Linked DNA regions of Homo sapiens: regions 2 and 3 are each linked to region 1. Evidence: promoter capture Hi-C in human tissues and cell types (Jung and others, 2019). All regions are on one chromosome and are shown on one strand. Each heading gives the region's core, a stretch centred on a gene start or on the middle of the fragment in contact. The rest is flanking DNA. Distances are from core to core; before and after follow the strand shown.

Evidence for each region. Contacts are between HindIII fragments. The study calls those that stand out against the background at their distance.
Region 2: a contact is called between a fragment that was not itself captured here and the fragment with the promoter of SH3D19 in region 1, in 2 of the 25 tissues and cell types used here (mesenchymal stem cells and thymus).
Region 3: a contact is called between a fragment that was not itself captured here and the fragment with the promoter of SH3D19 in region 1, in 1 of the 25 tissues and cell types used here (lymphoblastoid cells).

Annotation. Positions count from the first base shown.
Region 1 is chr4:151,324,067-151,327,231 of GRCh38, reverse strand. SH3D19 (SH3 domain containing 19) reads left to right here and starts at 1,627. Exons shown (of 20, transcript NM_001378122.1): 1 at 1,627-1,991. The coding sequence starts at 1,880. The HindIII fragment of the contact is 31,894 bases long and covers 1-3,135 here.
Region 2 is chr4:151,927,647-151,931,116 of GRCh38, reverse strand. The region is part of intron 3 of LOC127898557 (a long non-coding RNA gene); the gene reads right to left. All of the region lies in intron 3 of LOC127898556 (a long non-coding RNA gene), which reads right to left. Among named protein-coding and RNA genes, the nearest start is that of LINC03074, 27 kb to the left of the region's middle. The HindIII fragment of the contact is 3,585 bases long and covers 1-3,470 here.
Region 3 is chr4:152,037,666-152,040,914 of GRCh38, reverse strand. No RefSeq gene overlaps it. Among named protein-coding and RNA genes, the nearest start is that of LINC02273, 61 kb to the left of the region's middle. The HindIII fragment of the contact is 6,310 bases long and covers 1-3,249 here.

The DNA of each region.
Region 1 (3,165 bases), core at 378-2,877:
AAAGAAACAGCACTCAGGTGTGGCAGGCAATTCTATTTTCAGTGACCCTTTTCTCCCTTTCTTTTTCTCTCCTACTTGCTGAACATTAGGAGCTCTTGGTAATCTCTCAGAAATAGAGCAAGACGCCAAAGATAAAGGCCTGTTCATCGCACTCAGGAATTTCCTAAGGTTTCATGTCCAGGTAATATTTCTGCCTGCTACTTGGGTATCTTTTGGTGAAATTCCAGAATCTTTTCCTCTCTGTGTGAAAGTAAGTACGTGCACCTACTGAACCTAAGATGTGTATTGTGCAGGTACACACAACTTTGGTTACACGGTTCTTTCCAGCTTTGAAAAACTTTCTTAGGGGTAGCTCACACAGCTAAGTGCTTCAAATTACAGTTTCTGACTCCAGAGCCAGTGGTCTCTCCACTTCCCCTAGTTGCCTCTCTACAAATAATCACGTATGGGTCTCTTTAACACATTTCTTCCTGTTCTTCTAGGAATTGTAGCCATATCCTAGCCCTAAATGAACTGGAATACAGTGAGGCTTGATTTATTATTAAACATTTTTATTAGACTTTTTTTTTTTTTCGAGAAGGACTCTCGCTCTGTTGCCCAGGCTGGAGTGCAGTGGTGCGATCTCCGTTCACTGCAAGCTCTGCCTCCTGGGTTCAGGCCAGTCTCTTGCCTCAGCCTCCCGAGTAGCTGGGACTACAGGCGCCCGCCACCACGCCTGGCTATTTTTTTTTTTTTTTGTATTTTTAGTAAAGACGGGGTTTCACCGTGTTAGCCAGGATGGTCTCGATATCCTGACCTCGTGATCTGCCCGCCTCGACCTCCCAAAGGGCTGGGATTACAGGCATGAGCCACCGCTTCCAGTCTTACTAGACTATTTTTAAGAACAGTTTTAGGTTCACAGCAAAATTGAGCTAAAGGTACAGAGATTTCCCATGTACCCCCTGCTCCCACACATGCATAGCCTCCCCCATTATCAACATCCCCCACCAGAGTGCCACAGTTGCTACAATTGATGAACCCACATTGACACCTCATAATCACCCAAAGTCTATAGTTTACATTGCGGTTCACTCTTGGTTTTGTACATTCTTTGGGCTTGGACAAAGGCATCCGCTATTACAGAATCATACGCATAGTAGTTTCACTGCCCTAAAAATCCTCTGTGCTCCCGCAAGTCTAGGTTTTTAAGGGCGAAAAGAGAGGGAAAGAAAAAAGTGTGCATTGCAGAGGCTCGACCCAACTCCAAGCCAAGTTTGTTCCAAAGTTCAGCAGCTCCCAGCTGTCCCATCTCTCCCAGTTCGGCCCCGGTCGGGTTCCTCCTCTTTTTGTTTAAGTGTCAAACAAATGGGTTTCCTGTTGACACTGGAATATCGTGAAAAGGCAGGAAGAGGCCAGGCCACCTCCTCTTTCCCCTCTTCCTATCCCGTTTATTTATTTTGCACACGTTTGTTTGGGTCGAGCTGGTGTTTCCAGCGTGTGTGGCTGTGGGGCGGCCTTAGGGGCCGATAACCCCTCCCTGAGGAGGCGAGGCCAGCCCCGAACCCGCCCGATCCGCGGTGGAGCTCTACGGGGCGGGGAAGGCAAAGAGGAAGGGGGAAGAGAGCGGGAGTGGGAGTGGGAAAGGCCAGGGATTAAGAGGCCGCCGGGACGCCGCAAGGAGGCGGGGAATCGGCTCGGCCCGCGCCCTGCCGCTGCCCGGCCGGCTGCAGGTGGAGTTCGCGGAGGTGGCCATTTCCACAGCCGCCGCCGACGCCTCCTCTCCGGGAGCCGCCTTCCCCCCGGCCCGAGGGCGGTGGCGTGGGGCGCCGGGTGCAGGCGTTCTGGGGCGCCGGGGCCGCAGCTCGCTGGCCATCCCGCGGCTGCGCCCCGCGCCTCGCCCATGGCTGAGGGCCGGCGGCGGGAGGACGAGGAGGAAGAGCTACGCGAGCGCCGCGAACTTGGTGGCCAGCGCCGCGCCCGGGGCCGTGCGCTCTCGGGCCACTCGGCCGCAGGTGAGAGGCGCGGGGGACGGGGCGGCGGGGACCCAGAGCTGCGCGCTCTGGGGCCGCTCGGGTCCTGCCCCACACAGCGGCAGCTCCTTCACGCGCCGGGATGGGACCGGCTTCTTTAACTCTCAGAGGCCAGACTCGGGGAGGGTGGCATTTCCATCGCCATCCTCACTTTCCGGCCGAGCCCGAGGAAATTCAGACCCGTCTTTAACTGCTAGTGGTCGTACAGCTGAAACTCAAATTTTCCGTGCACACTAAATCCAGGAGCTGCTGGCTTGGGACTTGTGGCCTGGTTGATGACTTATCTCTGGATGAGTCAGAGGTCAATGGCCGTCTCGGTGGACAACGACACCTTCCGAGGGGTTTGCCTGCGCCGCCGCAGCCAGGTCAGAGCACGTGCTCATAACTGAGGCAAGTCCTGTTTCGGCGTCCCTTGCACTTCGGACCTGTGACCCCCCTCCCTCCCTCCCCCAGCCGCCGAGCTCACCAGTTTTCTGTAGGACTTGTTTTCGTTAGTTGTGAGACCCTCCCCCACGCAAAGAGAAGTCCAGAATATAGCATTCCAAAAGGCCATTCATTTGGGCTGAGAATCATTTTCGGGCCTGTAATTACTTTTATGATACTGTGTTTTGGGTACACAAAAGCGGCACGGATCAAATAGTTTGGCACATTAGTGAAAGAGTGAATAAGTGTAGATCCACACCCCTTCCCTCTTCCGGGCGGCTTTTCAATCAAACATAATAGAGAGGACATTCTTTGGCCTTTGGTTCCAACTGGGTAATCCGAGTTATCTGAAAACAAGAGGGAAGAACAAACCTAGGGGGACTGGCAACAAAAGGGAGATAGGGAAGTGAGAGAGTCGGAGGAGAACGATTCACTGAGAGCCTCATTATAAAGTGGAATATAGCGAATATTCCATGAAGTGGAGAAGCTTTTCTGTGTGACTCCCTTAACCACTAAGAGAAAGTTGGAAAAATAGAGAAGATATTGTATCTGTGCGGAACAAATGGAGGGTAGAAAGTAGGATGAAAGGAAAACTTGAGAAGAACATCTTGAAGAAATAGTCAATTTAATGCCTTTGGTAGAATCTTGGAACATAAAAATAATTCTCCATGCTCATTATTACAACTTTTCATCAAAATAAGGCATTTGGCTGTCTATATGAACACCAGTTTTG
Region 2 (3,470 bases), core at 475-2,974, 600 kb before region 1:
CAGAGAAGAGGTCCTGAGAAAATTCTTCGAAGTATGGGGACCTCGAGGTCCTGATTCCAAACAGCAACAAACATGTGCTCTAAGATTAGCCTTTCTGAACGATATTTCTCCCTGAAGACTTGTCTGTTTCCTCAGTGAAGCTATCCAAGCTTCCTAACCTCCCTCCAAGGCCACAGAGACCTCTTCTCCCTCCTCCAAACTCTGACCAGCAATCTGTGTCCTTTTTTCAGAGGAAGGGGGAAGCAGAGGGCACTTCTCACATGCTCTCTGGCATCAGCTGTTGGGGGATTCAATAGGCCTGGTTAATAATGCCAGGCATTGCCAGCAAGTCACAAACTAATTGAGAAATAAGACAAAAGAATAGGGCATGTGGAGACCAAAATAACATCTTCATTGTTGATAAATGTGCTATTAGACTAGCAGAATTCACAGCCTAGTCACCCTGTCACAGGCAGCACTGGGGACAGCTCTTCCCTGGGGCACAGATCCCCGCCCTTGCCAATGATCACAGAGGAGAGAGCAAAGCAAGCACTTCTTGTGGGCAGCCTGGCTCCTAACAGGAAGGGGAAGGAAGGGAGCGTGGTTCTGTGTGCCCTGTTCCTCTTCATGGCTCTCCAGTTAAAACATCACACTCCTCCTTTCTGGGGACAGCTGGATGGAGAATGGCCAGCTGAGTCACACAGGTGAACCCCCTCTACCTAGGACAAGCTCCCCAGAGCAGGAAGGAGGCTTCCTGCCTCCCCCAACACTTTCTTATTCTTTTCTATGTGCCTTGGGTCTTTGATGGGATGATAAACCAACGGAATGCAGGGATTCTGTATTATCTTCTGTCGATGTTTTCTCCAAAGTGCCTGGCACTGTGCTGGGCAAATTATAGAAGTTCAAAAAATATGTTTGTTTGTTTTCGAAAAATAAAGGGCAAAAAAAAAAAAAAAAAAACACAGAAGCAAGGAAATGACAGAAGGGACAGAGAGGGGAGGAAGAAATGGGATTGGGGGATGTTGTGATGATTATTTATAAGCTTATCTTAAAAATAAGGGAAGCATGAGGGGTTGGGGATTTGACTCTGAAAGCAGATGGCCTGAGTTCAAATCCTGCCTCAGCCCTTTACTTGCTGTATTGCTCTGGACAAGTTGCCTAAGTTCTCTTTCATCTGTACCTACCCAAGTGGGTTGTTGTGAGCATTAAATGGGATTTGGCTCATCAAGGGGTTAGAATACCAGTTGATGAACTGTGACTTTCAGGTTATTCTGACCTGATGCCTGTTTTTGTAAATAAAGTTTTATTGGAACCCAGACACATCCGTTCATTAATGTATTGTCTACAGTGGCTTTTGCAACTACTCTAGTAGTTGAAACAGAGATTTTATGACCTGCAAAGCCTGAAATATTTACTATCTGGCTCTTTAGAGAAAAAGTTTGCATATTGACTCCTGGCTTAGAACACAAAGCCCCATTCTTTCACCCTGTGAAGTAGAAGACTGAGTACATATGTCACTCTCTTTAAAGCAGTGCTTGATTCTTGCAGTTAGACATTGGTACTCCCTTCCCACTGTCATTCTATGGCACCTCAGACTCCTTCTACGGCACTTTTCACATGGCATTGTCTAGAGATTCTCCAGTCTGGGATTGTGTCATATTCACTGCTCCAGCATAGTGCCTTAGACAAAATTGATACCCAGTAAATGCTTGCTCAATATTCACTGGTAATACACACATGCACAATAAAAACCCTCTAAAAGGAATAACTATAAACCTGCAAAGTGACAAAGGCTAGAGTTCTGAGCAAGCCTCTCTGGACTTTTCACTATTGTTCCATCAGGTAGGTTTTCATGTCCTTCTTTCTGCCTCTTTATTTCTGTCTTCTTGCTTCTCAACGTCTGGCCATGGTGGTGGTGGTGCTTGAGTGGCAACAGTCCTGCGCTCACTGATGAGCCTGCAGTCTACAACTGGCATTCCTTTCCATGTCTTGCAGGGCCATCAGCCTTCCCTTCAATGCTTGGAAGTTCATGTCAAGACATTTTGGCCAGGCGCGCATCAGTCCTTGGGCAGATGCTCCTAGTGGGAGGTGAGGAATGCTCCCACCTGAGTCTCTCCCACCTTGCGTTCCACAGCAGGTGTGCCAGGGGCATTCTAATCATGCTTCCTGTGGACTTGCATCTGCTTCTGGTTTTCAGAGCTTCTGGTCATTTTCACTACAAAATATTAGGCTCTATTTATCTGTCACATCACCAAAGCTAGTCCTGGATATTTCTGACCAGGAAATATTTGAGCTGTGTTGTAAACAAGACAATGACCATGGGCACCTCCCTGATCCTCATCCTCTTCCTCAGTAAAACAAGAGGAAATGGTCACAAGCCTCTCTGATTCTAACATCAATGGCATCTATGAGGTCACATGAACCTTCAGTGCTAGCAATGTCTTTAAATGGGATTAGCAGCTGGCTTGAGCACTGACCCATTTGAGGGGCTGGTTGCTGACCCCACACTCCTCAAGTCCTCTGTCTGCAGGATACTAGGATGCTGACCTTTCATCATTCCACTGACGTTATGTGGCCTAAAATCCTCAGCCTGAAGGTAAAATTCCTTAAAAAGCTCTGAGCTTTCCAAAGGTTCTTTGGGGTTCAAAGGTGAAGTCAATGTTTGCCTCCAAGTAAGAATTCATTAGCTGCTATTGCCAATCAGAGCTGTTTTCTCTGAGCAGAAACGAGCTCCTTGGAACTTTGCAGGTCTCTAGGTCAACAGCTTAACATGCAGGATGTGCAAACGCCTGTGGTCTCATCCACCAGAACTTGCAGGTACACATAGCTTCCTCGCCCGACTCCGCAGCTTGGCTTCCCATCAGAAAACAGCTGAAAAGTACCTGCCATATCTTGCTAGTGAGACCCAGGTCCCATCAGACATCAGATTGCAATCTAAGATGGAGCTAGAAGCTTGAATATCTCTCCTGGGTGTTCTGACACACTCATTCTCCAGCTTGACTTAAAAAGAAGAGCTTTTTTCTCCCCTTATGGCATTTTTATTCTCATAGGAATCAGTAAGTAGAAACCTATTTGTAAAGTAATGGGTAAAATGATTACTGGGGTTTTTTAAATGCTCTTTCTGATGTTTCCATTTTTATTTAACTCAACAGTGGCAGATATACTGACAGCCACACTTATTCATGATCCAGAGAAATCTTTGCTTAATACTGTATTAAGCACTATTGAGAAGGAACACCCCTCGGATGGCTTTCTCCAGGTGTTCAGGACCTTCGCTATCCTCCCTCCACAGGGGCTGACAATACTTCAGCAAAGTTGGCTGTTGAGGATGGAATTTCATTTTGGGCAGAGCAATGTCTCAGGATAGGCTTGGGAGTCTGCCTTCCTTAGATAAATGGGCCTAAAGATGGCAAGATCATCTTCCCAGCATTGACTGCCACAGCACATATGTTAGGAACAGACTTTATTCTGACTGGGGAAAGGCCACTGAA
Region 3 (3,249 bases), core at 101-2,600, 710 kb before region 1:
CACCTTTGGGATATGCCAGGCATGTTTTATGTTTTTTTACATGTGCTAACTCATGTAATCCTCACATGCCTTATGAAAAGCTCTTCTATTAATATTATTCTCATTTTGGAAATGGAGGCACAGAGAGGTTAAATAACCTACCTAAGGTCACGCAGAATAAACAGTGCAAGGATTCAAATCTAGGCAGCCTGGATCCAGAGCCCACATACTTAACCTTAATACTCATGCTGGACTGGGTGCGGTGGCTCATGCCTGTAATCCCATCACTTTGGGAGGCAGATCACTTGAGGCCAGAGGTTTGAAACCAGCCTGGCCAACATGGAGAAACCCTGTCTCTACTAAAAATTCAAAAATTAGCCAAGTGTGGTGGTGGGCACCTGTAATCCCAGTTACTCAGGAGGCTGAGGCAAAAGAATCGCTTGAGCCCCGGAGGCAAAGGCTGCAGCTGCAGTGAGCCGAGATCACACCACTACACTCCGGCCTGGGCAACAGAACGAGACTCCATTTGGAAAAAAAAAAAAAAAAAAAGCCGAAAACACCAAAGAAACAAAAACTCACGCTGTATTCTGCATCCCAGTGGATGTCCCTGTGTGCCAGGCTTCTTCTCCATCCTAATGTTTCCTGTCTAATGTGCCCACTGGAGAGGCTCTCTGGATGGGAAAGCTGACGCCACTGAAATTTTCTGGGAACAGAAGGCCAGAGGTGGTGGGTGGGAAGCTTTTGTGGCTGTCAGTTCTATGCTAATGACATCTGCTTCTTGGCAGGGGCACCTCTGATCCTAAGGTGAGATTAGTTCAGTCCCTTTCAGCACCTGGTTTTGGGATCTGAGAAGTCTGAATGTTAGGGGTAACAGTGCATGGACCAGGGAGGCAACTCACCCAACTACTCTGCTGTCCAAATAATTTTTTTTTAATTAAAAACTCCTCTTGGGAGATTATAGGGAGAGCACAAGCAGGTGGTGCTAAGAGTGAGAAAAATCTTCTCTGTCCCTTGGGGAATGACTAAGAGCAATGCCTATTCTACTGAGATTTGCAGTTCAATTTATCTTCCTTAAATGACCACATAGGAAAATGATCACAGCAGCGAAGCGACATTAGAAATGTGGAATGGATAAATAAAACTTTGGATGAGCGCACCGGCTGCTGAACCCATTTGAAAAATGGAGATCTGAGAAGCACACAGACTGAACTGTGAGAAGCCCTTGGAAGGAAGGTGTCGGAACAAATGTCAAATGTTTATCTGGACTAAAAGATAAACTGATGTGCACAAGCCCTCAGGCCCTTGCAGGTTTCCTTCTTCATGGGCAAGGCTGTGGTTTCCATAGGTCATTTCCCTGCAGTGGTTATAGCTGCTTTTAGCATAAGCCAAGAATCACCGTCGTTGGAGGTGGAAGGGGGCCTTTGGGGTCACACTGTATAGTCTGACCATCTCACTTTGCAAATGAGGATCTCAAAAGATAAAGTGACATGAGAGATGAAATGACATGGCCTGGTATTCCACGTGCATTTTCTTGGAGGATGTTTATAAAAATCAAACCAGTCGTCAGATTGGAATGTAGGCTACGTAGCAGCAGCCACTAACATCAGCAAACTCGACGACGTTCCAGATACTCGTGAGCTTTCTACGTACATGATCTCATGTAGTCTTCACAATGACCTGACGAGATTGGAACTAATATAGCCTGTATTTTCCTAGATGAGGACATCTAGGCCTGGAGAGATTCAGTGGCCTAACCGAGGTCACACTGCTAGGAAATGAGAGAGCCACGTCTCAACCCAGCCCTGGTACCACATCCCATGGAAACCCTGCTCTGCTGCCTTCTAACAAGACAAGAGTAGGAAAATGGTCAAAGGAACCAGATGTCCCTCATGGGAATATTATTCTACAATTCAAAATCATTATAAAATCCATGTACGAATATGGTAAATGTTTATTACTTAGTGTTTAGTGAAAATGCAATACTCGATGCAAAAATATTCAGAAGAAAAATGAAAGAACACTTAAACACCAACAGTTGCTGACTAGTGTGGAAAGCTCTTTTTTCTTCTGATTTTTCCCTTTTTGAATTTTCTATAATGTGGTATAGGTCTTTTGTAGTGAACAAATAAATGTAATCATTTTTCTTTAAACAACTATCACTGTGCTCACAGAATCGATAAGAAAAAGACTAAAATGAATGGTAATATATTTTCCTTTCCTTGGCAATAAAAACTAATAAGTAATTGATTTGCACCAAGAGATAGAAGATCATTTTACAAAGTCCATACACAACACAAGTCCCTTTTCACGTTTCATCAGATGCAACAGAAACTAAAATTCCAAGAATTTAAGTTTTGAAGCTACCCTATTTTTGTGACTTGCGTAGCCTAGTCTATTAATAAAAGGAGATAACCTTGCTATGTTTACCAGCATAGTGACTAATCATTCTTTCCTTCTGTCTGTAGCTGAGTTCCAGCCAACATTAAGACTCATGGACACATTGGGTTGGAAGGTTGCTTACTGTTCACCTTCCACACACTCAGGCACAGAGAGGTGAAATCACTTGCTCAACGTCTTGTGAGTCTAAATATTTAAATGCTGAAAATAAACTCTCAGCTCCTCAAGGGCAAGACCCATTCTTTATGGTGCCAATCCCAGCACCCAGGGCAGAAGGCTTCCTTTACTAGATGAGTTAAAATCTTAGTGAGGGGCCAGGATGAAAAGTCCAGTTCAATACACAGAGGCGATGGAAGAAGTGGCTCACAGTCACTAAGCACTTCTTAAGTGCCAAGGACTATGCTGAATACCTTACAGGATTCACTTACAGGGGCTATTCACTAAATAATCCTGTGGTAGTGGTAATATTATTTCTGTGCTGAGAAAAATGTGCCAACCTGAGCCCCTTGCCCAAAGCCATAGAGCTAGCTGGTGATGGGGTCAAGATTTTAACCTAAATTTCAGAGCCAGTCCTTTTAGCCCGACTGGGACTCACAGCACCAACTCAAGCCCTTAGGCAGGTTTTCATTCCCAAAGAGTTCAGAAACTTGCCCGAAGGAAGAAGGGGAACTAGACTGAGTGCCAAATGTCTGTAGGCCTGAAACATGACCAACATATTTGTTGCAATTCAGTAAACCTTAAAATGACCACCTCATAAAAACCAATCCGTGCCTCTTCCACTCTTCTCCATACTCAAGCTTGCCTCCAAGTAAAATAAGTTGTATTAGCCTGTGGTCAACTTGCTCTTAGTTACTTAGGGTGGGCACTCATTTT